Regions from separate parts of the Homo sapiens genome. Here regions 1 and 3 are each linked to region 2. The links are contacts of gene promoters, found by promoter capture Hi-C in blood cells and fetal thymus (Javierre and others, 2016). All regions are on one chromosome and are shown on one strand. The core of a region is centred on a gene start or on the middle of the fragment in contact, and the rest is flanking DNA. Distances in the headings are between cores, read along the strand shown.

The links. Contacts are between HindIII fragments. The CHiCAGO score rates a contact against its expected background, and 5 or more counts as called.
Region 1: a contact is called between a fragment that was not itself captured here and the fragment with the promoter of GLG1 in region 2, in 2 of 17 cell types (total CD8 T cells and activated CD4 T cells). The highest score is 7.4, in total CD8 T cells.
Region 3: a fragment that was not itself captured here is called in contact with the fragment with the promoter of GLG1 in region 2 in 1 of 17 cell types (monocytes); the score reaches 5.6 in monocytes.

Annotation. Positions count from the first base shown.
Region 1 is chr16:75,628,892-75,632,679 of GRCh38, forward strand. It overlaps KARS1 (lysyl-tRNA synthetase 1), which reads right to left. Exons shown (of 14, transcript NM_005548.3): 8 at 2,802-2,964; 9 at 2,525-2,698; 10 at 2,277-2,362; 11 at 1,532-1,617; 12 at 524-650. Among named protein-coding and RNA genes, the nearest start is that of ADAT1, 7.5 kb to the left of the region's middle. RefSeq lists an enhancer at 579-1,778. The HindIII fragment of the contact is 372 bases long and covers 1,244-1,615 here.
Region 2 is chr16:74,604,268-74,608,594 of GRCh38, forward strand. It overlaps GLG1 (golgi glycoprotein 1), which reads right to left and starts at 2,847. Exons shown (of 26, transcript NM_001145667.2): 1 at 2,390-2,847. The coding sequence starts at 2,827. RefSeq lists silencers at 2,418-2,597, 2,828-3,017. The HindIII fragment of the contact is 13,128 bases long and covers 1,813-4,327 here.
Region 3 is chr16:75,651,307-75,655,243 of GRCh38, forward strand. It overlaps TERF2IP (TERF2 interacting protein), which reads left to right. Exons shown (of 3, transcript NM_018975.4): 2 at 2,967-3,091. Among named protein-coding and RNA genes, the nearest start is that of TERF2IP, 5.5 kb to the left of the region's middle. The HindIII fragment of the contact is 2,243 bases long and covers 1,024-3,266 here.

The DNA of each region.
Region 1 (3,788 bases), core at 180-2,679, 1.0 Mb after region 2:
CTGGAGGTCAGGACTGATGAAATCGACCTCAGAACACATACAAATTTCTCTGAAAGAAAACCCTTCTGCTGCTTGGGGCTCTGGGACTCCAAACAGGTTAATTCTCAGAGACTGTGACAATTACAAGAGTCTTTCTCCCATTTCCTGAAAACAGCCCTGTCAACACCTGCTGCAGGCAGCCTGTGGGGGTTCTGTCTTCTCCATTCATCTCTACCTACCTCCCAGCCCTAAGCCACCTTAATACATGTACAATCTAAGAAAATAATGTTCTTGCTTGGCAAGTGTATTTTCAAGGCAAGCGTCACGCTTTCCATACGGAGATTAATAATGAAGTTCCTCTTATGTACGACAGACTCAATACCAGATGAAGTCACCATCTTGAAATGTGACTCCTCCAGCAAGCCTATGGCTTTATCTTTCACTTCTGAAGTCACCAAGAACGTATACGCTGACACAGATCAGGGTTAAGGCTGGTATTTCCTGGTGAGTTGGCACAGCTTCTGCTCACAGTCCCCTTTCTCACCTTGGCCTGTTCTTCAAAAAGCTGCCGCTGCCGCATGGGATCATTCAGCTCAGTATACGCATTGCATATCTCTTTCTTCATGACAAACAGCTCAAAGCGCTCAGTCAGACCCTCTTTAGAGCGGTGCCTAGGGACAGGAGACCAAAGAGGAGGCTGAATATAGAGGCCCCTAATGAGCTAAATTTTGTTTTTTCTTTTTTTTTGAGACGGAGTCTCGCTCTGTCACGCAGGCTGGAGTGCAGTGGTGTGATCTCGGCTCACTGCAACCTCTGTCTCCTGGGTTCAAGCACTTCTCCTGCCTCAGCCTTGAGTAGCCGGGATCACAGGCCCATGCCACTATGCCTGGCTAATTTTTGTATTTTTAGTAGAGACAGGGTTTCGCCATATTGGCCAGGTTGGTCTAACGATCAAACATCTAATACAATAATTGAATTCTAGTGGACTCAAAAGTGTTACTGATTGCAGTCAGAAGCCTGCATGCAGTCTCAGCAACAAATCATTTGGTACAACGGTGAGGAGGGTGAGAGAGACCAGGAAGGTTTAATGATCTTCCTAACAGGCCAGCGGGCAGACTGTTAAAATGGACCACACCTCTTGCATTCATGCCCATGTGTAGTCTCCTTCACCTGGACTCTGCGCTGGCAACATGTCTTGGTTTGGCCAATGGGTTATCACCAGAGGCTTGATACGTGTTTGCACAATGAGGTCTGTTCTTTTGGAAGCTTCCCCTTAGAGCCCAACCACCATGCTGAAGGGAAGCCCAGGCTGTGCTGCCAGACAGGCCACATGAAGAGGCCCTGGAGGATAAGATCGTATGTGGAGTGACCACGTGGAGGAGAACCAAAGTGCCCTGGCAGAATCCCCAGTTGAAAAAAAGCCACTTGGGTTACCCTGGTCAACACCACCCAGCAGAAAGACCACCAGTCAAACCACAAAATCTTGACAATAAATTGTTAACACCACTAAGTTTTGGGGCTGTTATGCAGCAATAGGTAACTGGAATCTTACCATTTAGCCAAAGGGCTCATTATCTGTGGGTGATCACAGATGAATGTAGGATTGATGCAAGTCACTTCCAGGAACTCCCCAACAAGCTTAATGAGAAAGCAAAGCAGAGTCAGTCACCATTTCTGAATAGTATTTGATCGTCCCAGCCCAGACAGAAGATCTCAGCTCCCATCCAGATGGGTTTATCCTATAGCTTTTTATTTATTTATTATTATTATTATTATTATTATTGAGATGGAGTCTCGCTCTGTCGCCCAGGCTGGAGTGCAGTGGCATGATCTCGGCTTGCTGCAACCTCCGCATCCTGGTTCCAGTGATTCTCGTGCCTCAGCCTCCTGAATAGCGGGGATTACAGGTGCCCGCCACCATACCCAGCTCATTTTTGGATTTTTTGTAGAGACAGGGTTTCACCATGTTGGCCAGGCTGGTTTCGAACTCCTGACCTCAGGTGATTCATCTGCCTCGGCCTCCTGAAGTGCTGGGATTACAGGTGTGAGCCACCATGCCCACCCTACCCTATAGCTTTTTAAAAGCTGGACGGGATTAACTGAGATCACACACATAAATTATTTGGCACAGAGCTTAGTATGACAGTTAAAAGTCTGTTAATTCTCTTGTTCTCTCTCTAGGGTTTTCCTGTGAAGCTGCAGAAATGAACTCTCCCCAGTGGGGTTCATTTTCCCAGGGAAGAGGGAACCATTCAGCACCAGATGAGGACATGTACAAGAAGGCAGGGCCTTCTCACCTTGTCAAGGAGCCTGGCTGTGGTCCGAGGTGGAGGGCATTCAACAGCTTTTGCCACACAGATATCATCAAGAATTTTGCGAGTTTCTGGGACACAAATGCAAAAGTTAGGGCAGGAGACATCACACTAGCCAAGTAAAAATGTACATAAAGAGAATAGTGTGGGAAATTCTAGCTCTGACCCAATCAAATTCAGAGCTGAACAGGAAGGAGGGCCTTACAACGGAGGAGTGAGTGTTGTCACTTTACCTTCAGTTTCAAAGAGGTTCGTTTCTGGCAGCTTCATCCCCAGGGCTTTCTCAAGCTCTTCTACCATGTTGATTCGCCGGAAGGGTGGGGTGAAGTCAACATCGTAGGCTTGGCCCTCTGGGCCATCTGGGTGGTAGGTGACCTTGTAACTGCCTGTAATATGCTTCACCATCCCTGGGAGAGAAACCTGTTATTTAGCGGGAATGAAATCCAGGCAGCCCTCCTCTGAAAGCAGCATACCAACCACCCGATGAGTATGAGAGAGAGCAGGAGTCACCTGAAACCATCTTCTCCGTGATTTCCATGAGATCGTGATAGTCTGCATAGGCCATGTAGAACTCACAGGTGGTGAACTCAGGATTGTGCGTCAAATCAATCCCCTCATTCCGGAACTGGCGTCCAATTTCATAAACCCGGTCGATGCCACCAACCACAAGCATCTAACAACAACACATGGCCACGGTCATGACAGCTAATCTTTTTTTTTTTGAGATGGAGTTTTGCTCTTGTTGCCTAGGCTGGAGTGCAATGGCAAGATCTCAGCTCACCGCAACCTCCGCCTCCTAGGTTCAAGCAATTCTCCTGCCCCAGCCTCCCTAGTAGCTGGGATTACAGGCATGTGCCACCACGCCTGGCTAATTTTTTTGTATTTTTAGTAGAGACAGGGTTTCTCTGTATTGGTCAGGCTGGTCTCGAACTCCCGACCTCAGGTGATCTGCCTGCCTCCGCCTCCCAAAGTGCTGGGATTACAGGCATGAGCCACCGCGCCCGGCCCCATGACAGCTAATCTTGTATTAACAGCTCTGGGAAGTTTCAGTCTCCAAAAGCCGTAACTTGGTTTTCACAGGTTAGGTATACTCTCAGGTCTCTGGTCAAATTGCCAAGCACCCTGCTCTCTTTATACCCTTGTAGTGTGGATAGTTACCCCTTTTTTGGCTGCCTAGGACTTCTCGATACTCTTCCTGTCTTGGGCATCCCCCATCATTGAGTCTGAACCTCCCCAAGGAAGCAGCCTCTCTTGGGGTTAGGCTGCAGGCGTGTGACCCAAGCTCCACCAGTCAGATACACTTGTGAGACTTCAGCATGGAAACTACTAACAAAAGATGTGGGTATTGCATAGAATTCATTCTGGTGAAGGGGGCCAGTCACACGTAGCTTTTAGATTGCAGAGGTCCTAGCGGCAATGACTTGTGCCTAGTGCCAGGATTATGAGCTGTAGTAACTGTGCCTACTAGGAAAATACACTGGGTTCTCCATGAGAACA
Region 2 (4,327 bases), core at 1,597-4,096:
TACTACAGTGAATCCACATGAATGAACTGATATGTAGGCACTGTACTAGGTATCACAAGTATTTTAGAGAAGACAAGAATTCGGAAGGGTGTGCACAGATGATATGGAAATACGACACCATTTTATACGGTATAAGGTACTTGAGCGTCCTTGGATTTCAATATCTGCAGGAGGCCTGGAACCATCCTCCAGTGATACCAAGGAACAACTGTACTCATATGCTCTGCCTTTTCATAATTCCAATAATGGGTACGGATAGGAAAATGTTCCCTGCATTTGCATGCAAAGGGACAGAAAAGTACATATATCTATTTCACTATCAAATAGTTCTACTTACTGAACAGCAAATACAAAACATATTCTATACATGTTTCTTCAAATGTGCCTAACTAGTTTACTTCTTTAAGTTATGCTCTTTCAAACACATAGATCAGATTTAATTAACTCCCAGACTAAGCAGAATGAAATTTCCTTTCGCTGTCTTTAAAGAAAAAGAAAATAGGGTGGGGGTGGTGGCTCACACCACTAATCTCAGCACTTTGGGAGCCCGAGGCTGGCAGATCACAAGGTCAGGAGATCGAGACCATCCTGGCCAACATGGTGAAACCCTGTCTCTACTAAAAATACAAAAATTAGCTGGGCGTGGTGGCGCTCGCCTGTAGTCCCAGGTACTCAGGTGGCTGAGGCAGAATTGCTTAAAGCCGGGAGGTGGAGGTTGCAGTGAGCCAAGTTCAAGCCACTGCACTCCAGCCTGGCGACAGAGTGAGACTCCATCTCAAAAAAAAGAAAAGAAGTTTAAAAATAACTCCACCTCCTGAAGAATACACATAGGTGTTCACAGTACTCTTCCTTCATTATTTCTGTATGTAAAAACTGGAGGAAAAAACATTAAATTGGAAATTTGGTCCCTCCACCTCCCCCCAACCCCCCAAAACCCCCATTTCCAATTTATATGACGCCTTTCCTCCTCTGGAGCATAAAACTGCCTCCTTTAAGTGGAGGTTTCCAAATGTCCGGAATACACATGAAGGATATATACACTCCTTGAATAGGCCACTTTTTGCCACTTTCCCTAATAATGTGCTGTTTCTACCACAAACTACTACTAATTGTTTGGTCACCAGTATTAGGATCCTAGTTTGATGAAACGACATCTATTATGTGTCCTCAAAGAGCGAAAAGAAAATTCCAAAAAGTTCGACAGAGTTAGGAATATTAGCTGTATCTACCAGAGGACTATCCCTCTAGTCGTTAAGCTGAAGATGAGAAGTCAGGTAAGGCCTCACATTTCTAGGGGCTCTGGAAACTTCCTTTCTTTCTGTCTCCTGCTTATGTATGTCTTTTCCTCTATCTGAATTGCTTTTGTATAGAATACTAGAACACGAGATGAAGGGGGGAAATGCCAAGAGAAGCAAATTTCTACAAGCAAGTGGTCTTGCTATAGCTTGAACGCCTTAAACAAATCTGATATTTAAAAAAAAAACCAAAAACAGTATCAAGTGGTAGCTTCATTCTATTTGTCCACCTTTAGGGCTAATTTTATATACCTACACCTCTGGAAAAAGTTACTACTGTCAGATTTGCTCCCAAACTTTGAGAATTGTCATTATGGTCTGCAGCATTAAACCTAGATTATAAATTATCAATGTCACTTGATTATAAATTATCAATGTCACTCAACTGAATCACACCAAGCAACGACAAATGTAGATTTCATTAAGAGATACTGTTAAAATCACATTCAGACCTCAGAAAGGCAAGATCCCATAACCCAGTCACAAACACAGCTTCAAACGCTTCCCCAACTTTTCAAGCTTTGGGGCGCCAAGTCACTGGGAGTTAACAGCTTAAACATGGGGTTCAATACAACTGACCAAAGGAAGTGAAGAAAACAAAGCATACATTAATTTCAGCACCAAAAATATGGATTTGCGAATTACATCTACTGCTAATAAACAGATCATTCTTTACAGCCTAAGTACGCCAGGCATTTTTTTATGTTTAAATGGCTTGCCACAAATTGTCCTAGTCGAAACTGATGGCAAAATCCTAAACTGATCTTCGGCGAGGAGACACTCTGCATAGAGCATCACACAAAAGACAGGAGCGAACAGACACGCTCTGGGCCTCGGCGGATTGCGGCCAGGAGCCCAGGTTTTCGTCCCAGACCCCGGCAACAGGGAGGGAAATAAGGGCGGGGGAAAGAAGGAGTGGGAGTGGTATCCTTTTCCCTGAAAGCGCCTGGGAGTGAGGAGCAAAGAGGGAAGGAGCGAGTGCAGCACAGAGGAAGCAAGGAAAGCAGCCGACCGGCGTCAGCGGCTTCCAAGGCCGGCAACACCCTCGGGCCCGCACCAGGCCTGGCCCTCCCGGCTTCGTCCCACCTCCTCACCTCCCTCACATCCTGCAGGCACTCGAGCACCGCCAGGTTGTTGCTCCAGGTGTGCTTAGGGCACACGCGGGTCACGTCCTCCCTGCAGGACTCTTCCTCCGCCAGCTTCCAGCCCCCACCAGCCCCCGCTCCTCCCCGCCGGGCCGGAGGCCCACCCGCCGGGAAAGGCGGCTGCGGCGGCTGAGGCTGCTGTTGCTGTTGCTGCTGCTGCTGTTGCTGCTGAAGCTGCGATGACTGAGGCAGCTGGGGCAGCTGCTGACCCGCCGGGCCGCCGCCTCCGGCCTGCCCTACGAAGGACACAAAGTTGGCCCCGGGACCCTGGCCCTGGCTGTGGACGCCCTGGCCGGGGAGTTTCTCGGCCCCGGCCGCGAATAGCAGCAGCAGATGCAGCGCCGCCGACAAGCGGAACATCCTCCGTACACGTCCACACGCCGCCATCTTGAGTCCGCGGCGAGCTCGACGCACTCGCCGGCGCCGCGTATTTAAATGAGGGGGTGGAGACGCTGGGCGTGGCAGCGTGGCCCTGCCGAGCCCCGCCCCGCCGGCGCCGACCCGCGAACCCAGAGTGGGGCGAAGGAGGAGGCCGTGCTGGAAACCGCACACACCCTGGACCGGCGGGCGGGAGAGCGGCGCTCCTTACCCGGGGGGGTTGCTGGGGTTTCTTAAAAAGCCCGGGCAGGGCGGCCTACTCTAATTCCATTTGCTGTCACAAAAAAAAAAATCAAGGGAATTGGGGTTGCCACAACCAAAATGGCCGGTAGAATATGTCGCCGGTTCAATGACTTGGAAAACAAAAACTTTATATGTAGAGGTGAACTTTGCACAACCAGGTGTATTACGGAATCGGAAAGCCTCTCCTTGTATCGCTCCCTCCTTCCTTCCTTCCTTCCATCTGCCTCAGAAGTCTTTCTTAGCCAAAGAGAGAGACAGCATTGAATAGGGTTAAGAGCATAAGTTCTGGGGTAAGAAAAAAAATTAAGGTTATAATCCTTGCTCTGGCAGGGTACGCAAGAGCTCAAATGTAAAGTACCATTGGCAAGATTCGAAATAATAATTTAAGTGCCTGGCCCACAACACTGAACTCAAAAAGTCACAGCCAGTATTGTTAATAAACTGGGAAGCCGTTTATGCATGAATCCTGATTTTAAGCCAGCATTTAGATTCATGTTTAAAGGATGAAAAAATAATAATAAAACACATCTTTGAGGACTCGGGTTAAGTCTGTGTGTCGGTAACTGTTCTCATTGACCTGCATGCAACACCGCAGGCACCCCACACTAGCATCCCCTCCCTGTCCTTAGGAGAGAGGATATGTTCCCAAAGCCTCTTCACATCCGCTGTGTAATCTGAGCCATGCATCAGGCCTGCGTTAGGTTCTCATTTAACTGAAGAATGGCACAGAGATGTTAACAGTTCTGCGTGGAGGGATTAAATGAGCTGCCCAAGAGGAACTCTGCCATCCTGTAGACAGCTAGGCTAGCCACCAGAATCCCTGGGGCTTCCCACCACCCTGGCGCACTTTCATCCCACTCTGTCCATGCACATGTTGGGGAATGAGGGCAGTTTGGGTTGTGTAATCTCCACTGGTCATTGTGTCCAAAAATGCGAATTACATCTACTGTAGTAAACAGACAGCTTCTGCTGTCCTGACCCGCAAATGAGCAGTCAAGACCAAGTTAGACATAACTAGAACCTGAAAAGTCAGGAGCTCAGGGAACCCAAAAGGAGCTCCTGAGACTGAAGATATTCTGTGAGTACAAATTACCCACTGTGGCTGACCCCAGGCCTCTATCATGGGGAATGAGAGCTTGTTGGCATCTCCACCAACGGTCACCTTTGCTACTGTCATAAAATGATCATGAGGCTGCTGCTAACCTTGAGCACTGACTAAGGCAGCCCCATGTTTATTAGCAAACACATGGCATAGGTAAGTTTCAG
Region 3 (3,937 bases), core at 895-3,394, 1.0 Mb after region 2:
TGAGAAAAGGAAATGGAACAGGAAGTTCCCAGAAAAGGAAATAAATAAGCGGCCGATAAACAAATGAAGAAATAGTCTGTTATTAAATGAAAGTAAATCAGACCGAGTGCGGTGGCTCATGCCTGTAATCCTAGCACTTTGGGAGGCCAAGGTGGCAGACCACTTGAGGTCAGGAGTTCGAGACCAGCCTGGCCAACATGATGAAACTCCGTCTCTACTAAAAACTACAAAAACTATCCAGGCATGGTGGCATGCGCCTGTAATCGCAGCTACTCAGGCAGCTGAGGCATGAAAATTGCTTGAACCAGGGAGGTGTAGGTTGCAATGAGCTGAGATCAAGCCCCTGCACTCCAGCCTGGGTGACAGAACCAGACTCCATCTCGGAAAGAAAAAAAGAAGAAGAAAGAAAGTAAATCAGACCCTGAGCCTAGGGTCAGTATAAGCTATACTTTGACCCATGAGACCTGTGAGATAATAAATATGTGTGTTGGAATTGTTTTGTATTTATTTGATGAATTGAGATAGCTTCCATTATACAAAATAGAACAAAAGCTCCCCAAGTTATTTATTTTTTTTAACTAAATCAGAGCAAGGAGATGTTATACTTTATCTATAAGATTGGCAAAAGTCAATACAATGGGTAATATCCAAAGTTAGTGTATGGGAAAACAAGTATACTCCTACGTTGTTAATAGAAATTGATACAATTTCTTTGGGGGGCATTTTGACAATATCTGATGACATTTATAACGTATATTCCCTTAAACATGGCAGTTTTGTTCTAGGAATTTATCCCGTAGATATACTCAGAGTACAAATGGGTACATACTGAAAAGGCAGTCTCCCTATTTACATACCCTTTTCCCTGGGTCCTTTCCTAGGGGCAGCCTCTATTACCGTCTCTTGTCTGTTGCATGTCCCCTTTGCTCATAGTAATACTAGCACACTAGACATCAACTTAATCTGTGGTTTACTTTTTTTAAACTTAATTATTTATCTTGAAGTGTTTGTGTGTCTGCACAAAGCTTTTCCTCATTCTTTTCTAATTGATTGCACTGTATTTCATTATGTGAATGAACAGTAATTTACTTTTTATTATGGAGAATTCCAAGCATTTACAAATACAGAATAGTATAATGAACTATACTGCATATACCCATCACCCACCTTCACCTGATTTTAGTTCATGGCATTTTTTAAATCTATACTTTTCATCCCAACTTCCTGGACTGTTTTGAAGCAAATGCCAGACATCATATCATTTTATCTATTTTAGCATGTATCTCTCAAAGATAAGCCTCTTTTAGTTACTATTTAAGAATTTTATTAAATACATACAGTAAAATTAACTTTTTATGGTGTAAAATTATATGCATTTTAAAAACTTTATTTTTTATTGTGGTAAAATGTATATACCGTAAAATTTACAGTTCAGATAGTTTTTTAAGTGTTCTGTTCAGTGGCATTATTAAGTGCATTCACATTGTTGGGCAACTGTCACCACCATCTGTATCTAGAACTTACTCATTTTCTAAAACTGAAACTCCATGCCTTTTATTATTTTCTGCTTCTAGGGGTCAGAAACATGCCTATTAAACACTAATTCCCCATTTCTCCCTCCTCTTAGCCCCTGGAAACAACCATTCCGCCTTCTGTTTCTATGAATTCAATATTTCTAGATACCTCATACAAGTAGAATCATGTAATATTTGCCCTTTTGTGTCTGGCTTATTTCACTTTACATAATATCTTCAAAGTTCATCCATATTGTAGCATGTGTCAGAATTTGATTCCTTTTTAAAGGTGAATAATATTCCATTGTATGTATATACTACATTTTGTTTTTCCATTAATGTATCAATTGACATTTGGCTTATTTCCATCTTTTGTTTATTTTGAATAATGCTGCTGTGAACATGGGTATAACTAGTATCTGTTTGAGACCCTGCTTTCCATTATTTTAGGTATATGCCTAGAAATGCAATTGCTGGATCATATGGTAATTTTATGTTTAATTTTTTCTTTTTCCTTGTGGGTTGTCATCATGAAATTATATTGAATTTTTTGAGGAACTGCTGTACTCTTTTCCAGTTATATGTGTTTTAACATAGGTAAATTTTTGTAACCAGCACCCACATTGGGATTTAGAACAATTCCATCACGAAAAACTCCCTCTTGCTGCCCCTTTGTAGTATGTTTTAGTAAGTAGAAAAGGAGCAGAGTTAAATCTTCAGAGAACAAAATGTAAAGGAAAGGAACAGGATGTTTAAATTTAGGAGGCCCTCCTTTTTGTAGATGGTATATTGGTGGATTGTGGTACGTGGCCCAGATCTGCCTTTGGCTGCTAGGAGAGCTGCCTTGCCCAAACTCCTGTCTTCTTAGGGCTGCCACCATCCAGTGACTGATATTTGCAGAGTTACAAAGTCTGCTCCTTGGCCCCAGCTTGGTCAGTTCTGAAGGGCCTTCCTAGCTCCAGAGTTGCCCATGGTTTTGGCTGAGGTCTTGTTGAAACTCTTTGATAAGTCAGCTTCTCTCTCTGCCCACTCCTGCTCTTCCACAAAGGTTTTCCCAAAATCACTTCCCAATTCTTTAAATTTCCATCTCCATCTCAGAATTTGCTTCCCAAGGAACCCAATTTATGACACATTTTTATTAATTTGCAAAGTCTGTAACTACAAAGCAAAAAATGAATTAAACTTGAGCATTTTTATATGTCAGAGTTTAAGAATGTATCATTGTTTGGATAGTACATCTTTTCAGAAGCAAGCATAGAAATGGGTGAATGAGCACGTCCTAGGCTTTTTTTACCCTTCTGAATCAAGAACAGATGTCTTCTGATAGTAAAAAAAAAAAAAAAAAAAAAAAAAGTGCAGGCTCACTCCTGGCCCAGAGCTCACACAGCAAATATATTTTTGGTTTATGTAAAAGAGGCTATTGCTAATCTGTGCTGTTCTTCTCTTTAACAGAACCACAGAATAAGAGAACTCCAGATTTGCCTGAAGAAGAGTATGTGAAGGAAGAAATCCAGGAGAATGAAGAAGCAGTCAAAAAGATGCTTGTGGAAGCCACCCGGGAGTTTGAGGAGGTTGTGGTATGTTAACTAGATTTACTCATTATTTTTTTCCCTACCTTCATTCTTCTTTGAAACTGGTTATCCTGTACACCTTTTTCATCTACCTGGGGCTCAGGAAAGTGAGAGAGGAGTTCAAGATGGAAAGGGAAAATGGAAAATGGGACTGATCTGGGCTTCAGACATGTTGCCCTGAAGCTTTTGCTTCACAAAGCTTTTAGTTTTTGGCAGGACAAGTTGAGGGGGAAAGGGAGAAAAATTGGGTAGAATAGGGACAGTTGTATAAACAGTATAAAGCATCCCACTTTGAGTACTTTAATGTCAATATATTTTTCAAAAAGTTTATAGTAATTGTTTTTTCTATTTTTTTGAGCCAGAGTCTGGCTCTGTCGCCCAGGCTGGAGTGCAGTGGTGCGATCTTGGCTCACTGCAAGCTCCGCCTCCTGGGTTCACACCATTCTCCTGCCTCAGCCTCCCGAGTAGCTGGGACTACAGGCGCCCACCACCATGCCTGGCTAATTATTTGTATTTTTAGTAGAGACGGGGTTTCACTGTGTTAGCCAGGATGGCCTCGATCTCCTGACCTCGTGATCCGCCCGCCTTGGCCTCCCAAAGTGCTGGGATTACAGGCGTGAGCCACCGCTTTTTGTATTTTTTTGAGGTGGAGTCTCACTCTGTCACCCAGGCTGGAGTGCAGTGGTGCCATCTCAGCTCACTGTAGCCTCCACCTCCCAGGTTCCAGCAATTCTTCTGCCTCAGCCTCCTGGGTAACTGGGATTACAGGCATGTGCCATCATGCCCAGCTACTTATAGTAATTTTTTTTATCAAGCAAATTTAGCTTTTTGTGTACTTTGAGCTTTTTAAAA